Regions from separate parts of the Homo sapiens genome. Here regions 1 and 3 are each linked to region 2. The links are contacts of gene promoters, found by promoter capture Hi-C in human tissues and cell types (Jung and others, 2019). All regions are on one chromosome and are shown on one strand. The core of a region is centred on a gene start or on the middle of the fragment in contact, and the rest is flanking DNA. Distances in the headings are between cores, read along the strand shown. Region 1 overlaps DLGAP1 (DLG associated protein 1). Region 2 holds the start of DLGAP1 (DLG associated protein 1). Region 3 has its middle 270 kb from the start of DLGAP1.

Region 1 (3,454 bases), core at 767-3,266, 320 kb after region 2:
CAAATGAGCAAATTGATCTCTAGAGAGTCTGAATAACTCACCCAAGCAACTAAGTAGAAAAGTGTGTCTAACTCCAAAACCAGAGCCCTTAGCCACTGTGGCATAATACTTCCTGTGGCCATGTATAAAAGAGACGATGGTGACCAGACTCCAGGAGATAAAGCTGGGTAAATTAGGATCAGGGTTGTAAAAGATCCCATTAATTTCACCCAATGGACCAACATTTATTCAAGGCTTTTAAGCAGGGACTGGAGAAACAGGCACATGATCAGATTTTATTTTACTAAATAGTTCTGATAGGCAAATGGTGAATGGATTAGATGGACTTGAATCTGAGGCAACCCTTGTACCTCTGGTGTTGGGGCAGTGAATCGTTGGCACTCATGAGCCCTGTTGGAAGCCCTTGACTTAGCATGTGCTGTGCTCTCCTCATGGCATGTTCTTACTGGATTTCTCTGTCTCCCAAACCTCCTTCAAGGCACTTCTCTATTGTCACCTTCCTGGGGGAGGCTGAGTCTCTCCTCCACACTCATGCAGCCTCTACTCAAAGCGCTTAGGGTGTTGCAAGCCTGTCATGTTGCAGCCCGTTGTGCAGTGATTCTCACAAAATCTTGCTGAAACAGTTCTACCCCCATTTCAAAGATGAAGAAAGTAAGTCTCACAGAGTTGATGTGACTTGCCTCTCTAGATTGTATCTGAAGTATCCTTGCATTACCAATGCTGGTAACTTGCAAATGCTCAATAAATGTGTAACAAGTACATTTAATTACCTTTACCTGTTAGTATGTTTTATTTTATTAAAGCTCCTGGATAACAGGAATTATGCTTTTGAAGCTTTCGTAATACCCAGCAACATGTATGGCACGCAGCAAATGAAATTACTTGATTCCTTTAACAGATTTTCATTTTCTGTTGTTTTCCTCTTTTCATTTTGAATACGATACTTTAGAGTAGAATTTTAAGTGGGAACTCTTTTGCCAGAAATCAGCAGGACACCAGGCTCTCTTGGAAGACCATTTCTTTTGTAGGATGATATGATGCTTATATGTTAGACAACTATTGTACCTGGCAGAATGAAAGTGCAGGTGGAAATAGGGTTGTCAACTTTTATTCTCACAATACCTTATAATATAGGTATTATTTTCTCCCCATTTTACCAATGACCAAGAAAGACACAGAAAGGTTAAGTAATTTCCCCTAGGGTCACACAGCTAGAAAGTGGCAGAGCTATAATTTGAACCCATAGACACCATAGTTTAGAGTTTATGTTCATTCACTCAATTAATAAGCGTTTTATGCCCTAATATAGGCCAATCATGAATTTACCCTGTAATAGATGGTCAATGAATGTGTACTTAGTGATTATACAATGTGAGTGCTTAGTCAGGGTCTTCACTAAATGATATATAAAAGTAGATATATGGCTTAGTATGGTTGAATCATTTCAGTGAAAAGAATGAATTGTCTAAAGCATCCATTTTTAGTTTTCAGATTTTACATGCTGTACCAATTCATCCTCAATTAAAAGAAACCAATTGCAAAGTGACTAGGAAATAGTCAATTATTGTTTTAGCTGCCAAGCTTCAAGAATTAGCATTCTAGAATTTACAAAAATGTTAAGCCAGGAAAAAAAAAAGTCATAAAACACCATTTCAACCGCTTTTGAAATTCTGCCAGATACTAGTAATTGTATTATAATTTAAATTTTGGAAACTTAGAATTTTAGAGTTGGATGGGAACTTTGGAATCATCTGTGCCAGCTGCGTACCTCATGCCAGAAGCATTCATACAACATTTTAAAAATAAGATCTTTGACAATGTTCTTTTAACATTTGCACAGTCAATAGAAACAGTTATAGATTTCTTTACGCTATCACTTAAATTTGTGCCTATGGCTAGTAAAATACGATAACCTCTAGCTAATCCAATCCAGCAGTTTCTTGTCACCCTTTCCTGGCTCTTTCTCTTGCCCACGTTTGAGAAATTGGCTTGATATTTTGGAGTGATTCTTCTAGATATTATTGAGCATTGTCCTCTAGTCCTCTAAAGCAGGAGTCAGCGGACCTCATCTCGTGGATCAAATCTGGCCCATCTCCTGTTACTGTAAATAAAGCTTTACTGAGACACAGCCACACCTGTTCTCTTATGTATTGTCTGTGGCTGCTTTTGTTCTAGAAAAGCCAAGTAGGGTACTGGCAACAGAGGAAGTATGGCCCTTAGAGCCATTTACTCTCTGGCCCTTTGAGAAAAAGCTTTCTAACCTGTGCTTTAAAGTATTACAGTTCTTCGCATGTTTTACTTTTAAATATCACTATTTCTTATTCCATTTGTCATGTGGAATAAAATGATTGTGATGGCCTGAATGACATGAGCCCACACATGGTTTGACTTTCTTCTAATGTTTAGTAATTAACTGTTCTTGCTCTCTCTCTTACACGTGCTTGCACGCACACACACACACACGCCCACGTTTTTTTCCTGAAGCTCATAAACTGGAGACAATAACGGTCTTTGTTTCTTTCTGTGAATGTCTGAATGTCTGCAGTTATCTTGGGATATAAATAGTTGCATAATATATTTCTGAAAAAAAAGACACTGTAATGCTGTTTGTGATCATAAAAGACATTGTTTATCAATATTACATGTGTTTATGGCTCTGGTTTTTTTAATACAATTATATGCAAATAGTCCCTTCTTGGGTAAATCCTTGTCATATTTTCCTGCAATTCCCCCTGCTGGCCACATCCTCGCCAATCAGAGTGGATGATTTTCTCACAGTTTTTGCAACAGGCCAACTTCTTGCTAGGCATTCTCTGGTTGTTTTCCTGCCTCCTCTGTCCTCCATTAAAAGATCTTTGCCAAAATGTCACCTTCTCAGAACAGCCTTCCCTTACCTGTAACGGCTCCCTCGGCTCTTTCTCTGTGATGACCCTGACATTAGTCGCAATGTGCCGCTCTCTTGTGGTCCGTGTTCATGTTCTGTGTGTATGTGTGTGCGATGGGAGGGTGTGGTCCTGCCCCTTCTACTGGAATGTAAACTTCACAAGAACAAGGACTGAATCTGTCTTCCTCACCACTGTCTTCCTAGATTCTAATATTGTAAAGCATTTAGAAAACAGAAAGTGGCACATAAATGACAAGTGATTCAATAAATAAATATAAAATAAATGAATGTCCTGAACTTACAAGTGTTGAAATGGTAAGAGTTTCTAATCACATCTAGATGTCACTGGGATCTTCACTCAATTTTGCTGATGTCACTTACACATTCACTTACTAATCCATCACTTACTATTAAATAATCACTATTCCAGGTACTATCTGTGTTCGTGTGTTCCTTTCTTTCTTCACTTGAGGTAATATGAGTATATTGGTATCATCAGTGCCTCTGGAATTTACTCATTCTGAAAATTTGGGAAATAGGAGATAGTTACCTGTCTGTATAACTGAAAAG
Region 2 (3,546 bases), core at 95-2,594:
TCTTTAATGGAAAATCACTCAGTGAAATTGCAGGAAAGAGGTTATTTATCTGAGTCATATTTTTATGAAAACTGTTTTTCACTTCCTTGCATTTTTAGAAGTGTTGTCTTTAAAAGGATATTCTATTAATATTTATAATTAGACATCACACAAAACAGATGCTAAATCTTATGCTATAACTTCTGGATAAAATTACATAAAGATTATGTACTTTTTGGCATAATATTCCCTCAGGAAGCTGTAGAACAAAGGACATTCTCCATGAAGATGCCATTTCTTTTTTTAATAGAAGGAAATAATAAGGCAGTGATTAACCACGATTATTTTAACTACTGTAACGTTTGCAATTAAGTGGGCAGCGCAGGAGCTCAATAAATACTTAATTGATTTACTTTTTTCTCTCCTTGACCCACATCGCAATTCACCCACTCACGCCGCTATCCCTATTCTAACTTTGAAACCAAGTGGATTCTCTCTGTTTTCAGTTTGTGGAAGCGTGGTGCTCAGCCTGTGTGGAGGGGCCTGGCTTCCAAGTGTACTTGGGGTGGAACCTGGGGACTTTACCGAGGGCACAGGTCAGGAGATGAGATTCGTTTCGCTTTTTGAATTACCTTTTGGCCTGTACCAAGATGAACTGGTGGGATATATAGTGTCATCGAACCCGGGAGAGTTGTTGTGGAGGTGAGGAAACAGCTCTGAGGGATAACGGTTTGAAAGTAGTGGCGCTGGGGACGAACATGGGTCCCTGCGAGTCTGAGACTCTCTATTGCCCCCATCTCCTTGCTGCCGATTACTTCTTCAAAAATTCTCCTAGGGACCCTGAGGAGGGACGGGAGAGGTCAGCAAACCCTCTGTCCACCAACTTGATTTCCTGTGATACAAAGTGTCATGAGTTCTCCTGCTTTCCTCCCTTAAAAAAGACAAGATTAGGAACAACGGCTGGCAAGAGAGGAGGGGAAAGCTTAATTCTCCACAGATGCTGCGCAAGGGAACCAATGGGTCACGCCCACTCACGGGTGGCCGCCTCTCTGTTCCATCCCGGGGATGTTGGGCTTTCCCCTCGGTCCGGGGCGAGCGCACTTCCCACCCGGAGACTGAGCGGGCAGCACTCGCAGGCCAGGAGCGCGTTCCGGGAGGCGCCGGCGCCTCCCCGCGGCCTGGGCGCACGTGCCTGGGCTGGGGCCGGAGCCCGCGGTCGCGCCGCGCCGTAGTAGCTGGGGCGGGTGGGAGCGGCTGGCTCCGGGCCGCGGCCGCCGCCCGCCCGCCGGCTCCGGTGGTTGGGCGGAGGAAGCGCGGGACTCCTCCTCCCCACCGTATTAACATGCACCCAGGGGCGGGTCACCAGCCCAGCCTTGCAGCCCCAGCCCGCCGCGTCCCGGCGCTCAGCCTCCGCTCCAGAGGCGAGCGCTGCGCTTCGGGCGCCGCAATCTCCAGGACACGGCCTCGCGGACACCTTCCGCCTCGGGGAATCGGCAGCATAGGCGGCGCGAACGGCCGCCGCCGCCTCGGCTCCTCTCTCGAGTCCTTCCCGTCACCTCGCTGAGAGCCGGTCCTGGTCGCGGGGACATCTCTCTCCTTCCTCCGAGGCTCGTGGGACCAACGGACGGACGCAGCCAGCGAGGGCCGGACTGCGGGACGCGGCCAGGTAACGCCGGGCTGCGCCGCGGGGCTGGGGCGTGCGCGGCGGCGGCGGTCGCGGCGCGCTGGGTGGCTCCTGGCTGCTGCCTGCCGCGCGGTCGCCGCTTCCCTCGCCCGCGGAGGGGCTGCGGGCTGGGCTCCCCCGGCCGCTGGCTCGAGAGTCCGCGCTCCTTACCCTTTCAGCCGCCCGGGGTGCACTCCCGGGCCCTCCGGGTAACCTGGGATCTCGGGGGCGAGCGCGTCCTCTCCGGCCATGCGGTCCTCGCGGCTCCCCACGGGGACCCAGGCAGGGGAAGGATTTCTAATTGCGACAGGGTCCCGGAAGGGGGAGGGGAGGAGAACACCGGTCCCCTGTCCCGGTCATGTCCACCGGTCAAATTCGCACCCCCACCCCACCCCCGATGCACCTTGCAGGGGAGGAGGGGGCTGCTCCCCGCAGGGCTTTCTCGGCAGGCTCCTGGGTCGTTTGCAAAGCAAGTTGTTGCACTAGCTTTTTGGGTGACATTTTGGCATTGTGGAAAAGGACCAACTCCCCCGTGCGTTTGTAAGAGAAAGCCAAAGAAACAGAGACACAAAGACAGGCACAGAGAGAGAGAGAGAGAGAGAAATGGGGTCCAAGGAGGAGGTCACTGGAGAGTCGCCCCCTGCCCGCGGCCAAGGCCAATTCCCGGAGAATCGCGGGGCGGGCCGGGAGACCCGACATTCAGCGAATTGAATGAGCCGGGCTGGAACCAAGGCCAAACAGGGACCTCTCCTCTGGGCTGGGCGAGATAACACATTGCACTTTCATTGAGGGGCGGCTGCAGCTGGGAGAGGCACCTTCGGAGGGCCCGCGGCGATGAAGACCCTGCTTTCAGGACTTCGGCTGCTGCGCTTTTTGCGGAAGGCGCGCTGTCCCGGCCTCGCTGGGTGGCACCGGGAGGCCGTGGGAAGGGGTGGCCCGTGGCTCGGCTGCCGGCGCCGGAGACACTGAGTGCCTGTGTCCGAGTGCCGCGCTCGCCCCCGGCTGCAGGGCTTGCCTCCAGCCCGACCGTAGCGCTGCGGAATTTTCTGCTAGAGAAGGGGAGGATGTGCGGAGGGCAAGGGGTTAAAGGTAGCCAGGCGGCAAGCAGTGGGACGCTGGGTGGGAGATGTCACGTCTTTTGTGGATCCAGGCGAGACTCTTCACTCCTTACTCCTGACACAGAGACTGACTCCCGGTCGTGGGAGGTGAATGCTCCCTGCCTCCTTCCATAACACGTGAAGTTAGGGAATTACGAGGAAAGACATATAATAAAAGTACCAATTAAAGACAGATCTTTTAGCTTTTGTGGTCTTCGTGAATGGCTTCGTAGAAGGTGAGGATAGATCAGTCTAAGATGTGGTTAGACATGGAGATGAGAAATGCTGAGAACTAGGAAAGCGATTTTAGGTCCTAAGGCAAACATCCTGCAAATTATTTTTTACCCTGAAAGAGCTGTTCTAAAAAGAACAGCCCTTTGACTGTTATTTATAGCACGATTTCAGTTCAGGAAACGACTTTCTATTGGCCTAGGTCATTTTGCATATAAAGCAATACTTTTTATTCCTTGAATAAAACTTGAACGGAAATGACATGGAGGCAAGAAATTTTACAAGATCCTAATTTATTTCATGCCAGAAGAATATAAAGTTTTCTTTAAGTTTTTAAAAGGAAATTCAAGCCTATAAAGAAATAATGAATATGTCTATGCAAAATGTATGATTTTAAAAAGTTTAAGTTATAAACGCTACCCTTGGTTCAGAAAATTCATACTCTGGCATGAAACAAGAAAGTTCATAGAAGTCAGGTGTCAGTAGCCCTGTTCTTAATTTCCTTTAGATTTAGTACTTAAATGTAAAGTTGTTTCAGTTGGTTAGTGCCTTGCAATACCCCTAGTCGCAGATATA
Region 3 (3,142 bases), core at 78-2,577, 270 kb before region 2:
TCACTGGATTGTATAGGAAAATCATGCTTTTTTTTGTTTGTTTGTTTTTGTTTTTTTTGTAAGAAACTGCCAAACTGTCTTCCAAAGTGGCTGTACCATTATGCATTCCCACCAACAATGGATGAGAACTTCTGTTGCTCTACATCCTCACCAGCATTTTGTGTTGTCAGTGTTTTGGATTTGAGCAGTTCTTATAGGTGTGTAGTGGTAATTCACTGTTGCTCTAATTTGCATATCACTAATGTCATATAATGTGGAACAACTTCTCATATGGTTATTTGCCACATGTATATCTTCTTTGATGAGATGTCTGTTCAAGTTTTTTTTGCCCATTTTTAAATCAGGCTGTTAGTTTTCTTATTGTTTTTAGAGTTCTTTGTGTATTTTGGATAACAGTCTTTTATCAGATAATTCTTTTACAAATGTTTTCTCCTAGTCTATGGCTTGTCTCCTCATTCTCCTGACAGTGTCTTTTGCAAAGCAGAGGTTGTTTATTTCATTAAGGTCAGGACTATATTTATTCTATGGCATACATCTTTGGTGTTGTATCGAAACATCATTGCCATACCCAAAGTCATCTAGATTTTCTCCTATGTTATCTTCTAGGAGTTTCATAGTTTTGAATTTTACATTTGGCACTTTGATTTCTTTTGAGTTAATTTTGTGAAGGATATGAGTCTGTGTCCCCAGATTTTGTTTTTTGTATGTGCGTTCCAGAATCACTTGTTGAAAAGACTATATTTTGTCCATTGTATTGTCTTTGTTCCTTCGTCAAAGATAAGTTGATATTTCTGTGTGTCTGTTTCTGGGCTGTCTATGCTGTTCCTTGGATCTATTTGTCTATTTTTCCACTAACACCACATTGTCTTGATTACTGTAGCTTTTAGTCAGGTAGTGTCAGGTTTTCAACTTTGTTCTTCTCGTTCAGGATTACATTAGCTATTCTATTCTTTTACCTCTCTCCTTGTTTGCTTTAGAACAACTTTGTGGATATCCAAAAAATAATTTGCTAGGATTTTGTTTGTGATTTTCTTGAACCTGTTTATCAAGTTGGGAAAAACTGACATCTTGAAAATATTGAGGCTTCCTCTTCATGAACATGGACTATTTCTTTATTTAGTTCTTTGATTTCTTTCATCAGAGTTTTGTAGTTTACTTTATATAGATCTTGCACATACTTTGTTAGATTTATAACAATATTTTACTTTAGAGGGAGCGATAATGTAAATGGTATTGTGATTTTAATTTCAAATTCCACTTGTTTGTTGCTGGTATAAAGAAAATTAACTTTTTTATGTTAATTTTGTATTCTACAATCTTGCTATAATTGCTTATTAGTTCCAGGAATTTTTTTTTATTCTTTTGGATGTTCTGTGCAGACAGTTATGACATCAGCAAGGAGAGACAGTTTTATTTCTTTTTCTCAATCAGCATACCTCTTATTTCCTTTTCTTTTGTCATTACATTAACTAGGACTTCTGCTATGATATTGAAAAGACGTGATGAGAGGGGACATCCTTATGTTGTTTCTGATCTTAGAAGGAAAGCTTCTAATTTCTCACCATTATGTATGATGTTAGCTGTAGAGTTTTTGTAGATGTTCTTTATCATGTTGAGAAAGCTTCCCTCTGTGAACCCTGAATATCCGAGACAAATATTTAATTTAGAAAGTTTATTTTGCCAAGGTTGAGGATGTGCATCTGTGACACAGCCTTAGGAGGTCCTGACGACATGTGCTCAAGGTGGTCAGAGCACATTTTGGTTTTATACATTTCAGGGAGACATCACACATCAATCAACATATGTAAAATAAACGTTGGTTCAGTCCAGAAAGGCGGGACAACTCAAAGCAAAGGCAGGACAACTGGAAGCAGGGAGAGGCTTCCAGGTCATAGGTAGATAAGAGAAAAATGGTTGCATTCTTTTCAGTTTCTGATTAACTTCTCCAAAGATGGCAATAAGATACACATTTATCTCAGTGAGCAGAGGGGTGACTGAATAGAATGGGAGGCAGGTTTGCCCTAAGCAGTTCCTATCCTGACTTTTCCCTTTAGCTTAGTGATTTGGGGCCCCAAGATTTATTTTCCTTTCATGGTTCTATTCACAAATTTCTGAGAGATTTTATCATGAATAGGCGTTGGAGTTTGTCCAGGGTTTTTTTTCTGCAGCTATTCATATGATCATGTAATTTTTCTTCTTTAGCTTGTTGATATGATAGATTGAATTGATTTTTGAATGTTAAACCAGTCTTGCATAACTGAGATAAATCTGACATGGTCGTAATGTATAATTCTTCTAATGTATTGCTGGATTTAATTTGCTAGTATTTTGTTGAAGATTTTTGCCTCTACGTTCATGATAAATATTGGCCTGTAGTTTTCTTTTCTTGTAATGTCTTTGTTTGGTTTTAGTATTAGAGCAATGCTGGCCTCATAGAAAGAGTTATGAAATATTTCCTCTGCTTCTATCTTCTGGAAGACATTATAGAGAACTGGTATTATTTCTTCTCTAAATGTTTGATAGAATTTGCCAGTAAATTATTCTGGGCCTGGTGCTTTTTGTGTTTTGGGGTTATTAATTACTGATTTAATTTCTTTACTAACTACAGGCTTATTGAGATTGTCTCTTCAGTCTTATTTTAAAAAGCACAATCCTGTCTTGTCACTGCTCTGCCTAACATATTATAATGATTCCCCATTGCTTTTAGGATAAAGTCCATATCTTTAAGATGAATAGTAGCCTGCGTGATCACCCCCTTCATTCCTCTACAGCCCTGTCTCACTTTGCTTTTTAGATCACAACTACATTGAACTTTTTTTAGTTCCTTGAAGGTTTAACCTTCATGGTGTTTAATATCTGGTCTTTCATCTGTCCATAACACCCTTGTCCCAGATTCCTTTACCTAGGTAATAAAAATGCACTGACTCATCTTTCAGACCTTTGCTATAGTTTCTCATGGCATGTGGTGTGTCCCTTCATATTAATAGTACCTACCTAAATGGAATTAATTTTTTATTGTTTTATGTGTTTACTGCTCATCTTCCTTACTACGCTATAAATTCAATGAAGGCTCTGTTTATCTTGTTCACTCTTTTATCTCCCTACCCGAGCAATGACCATCACACATTAGTCATGCAGCAAA

Evidence for each region. Contacts are between HindIII fragments. The study calls those that stand out against the background at their distance.
Region 1: a contact is called between a fragment that was not itself captured here and the fragment with the promoter of DLGAP1 in region 2, in 1 of the 25 tissues and cell types used here (dorsolateral prefrontal cortex).
Region 3: a contact is called between a fragment that was not itself captured here and the fragment with the promoter of DLGAP1 in region 2, in 1 of the 25 tissues and cell types used here (H1 embryonic stem cells).

Annotation. Positions count from the first base shown.
Region 1 is chr18:4,130,207-4,133,660 of GRCh38, reverse strand. The region is part of intron 2 of DLGAP1 (DLG associated protein 1); the gene reads left to right. Among named protein-coding and RNA genes, the nearest start is that of DLGAP1-AS5, 130 kb to the left of the region's middle. The HindIII fragment of the contact is 4,071 bases long and covers 1-3,454 here.
Region 2 is chr18:4,453,105-4,456,650 of GRCh38, reverse strand. It overlaps DLGAP1 (DLG associated protein 1), which reads left to right and starts at 1,344. Exons shown (of 13, transcript NM_004746.4): 1 at 1,344-1,645. RefSeq lists a silencer at 1,195-1,324. The HindIII fragment of the contact is 8,504 bases long and covers 1-3,546 here.
Region 3 is chr18:4,723,821-4,726,962 of GRCh38, reverse strand. No RefSeq gene overlaps it. Among named protein-coding and RNA genes, the nearest start is that of DLGAP1, 270 kb to the right of the region's middle. The HindIII fragment of the contact is 3,072 bases long and covers 1-2,863 here.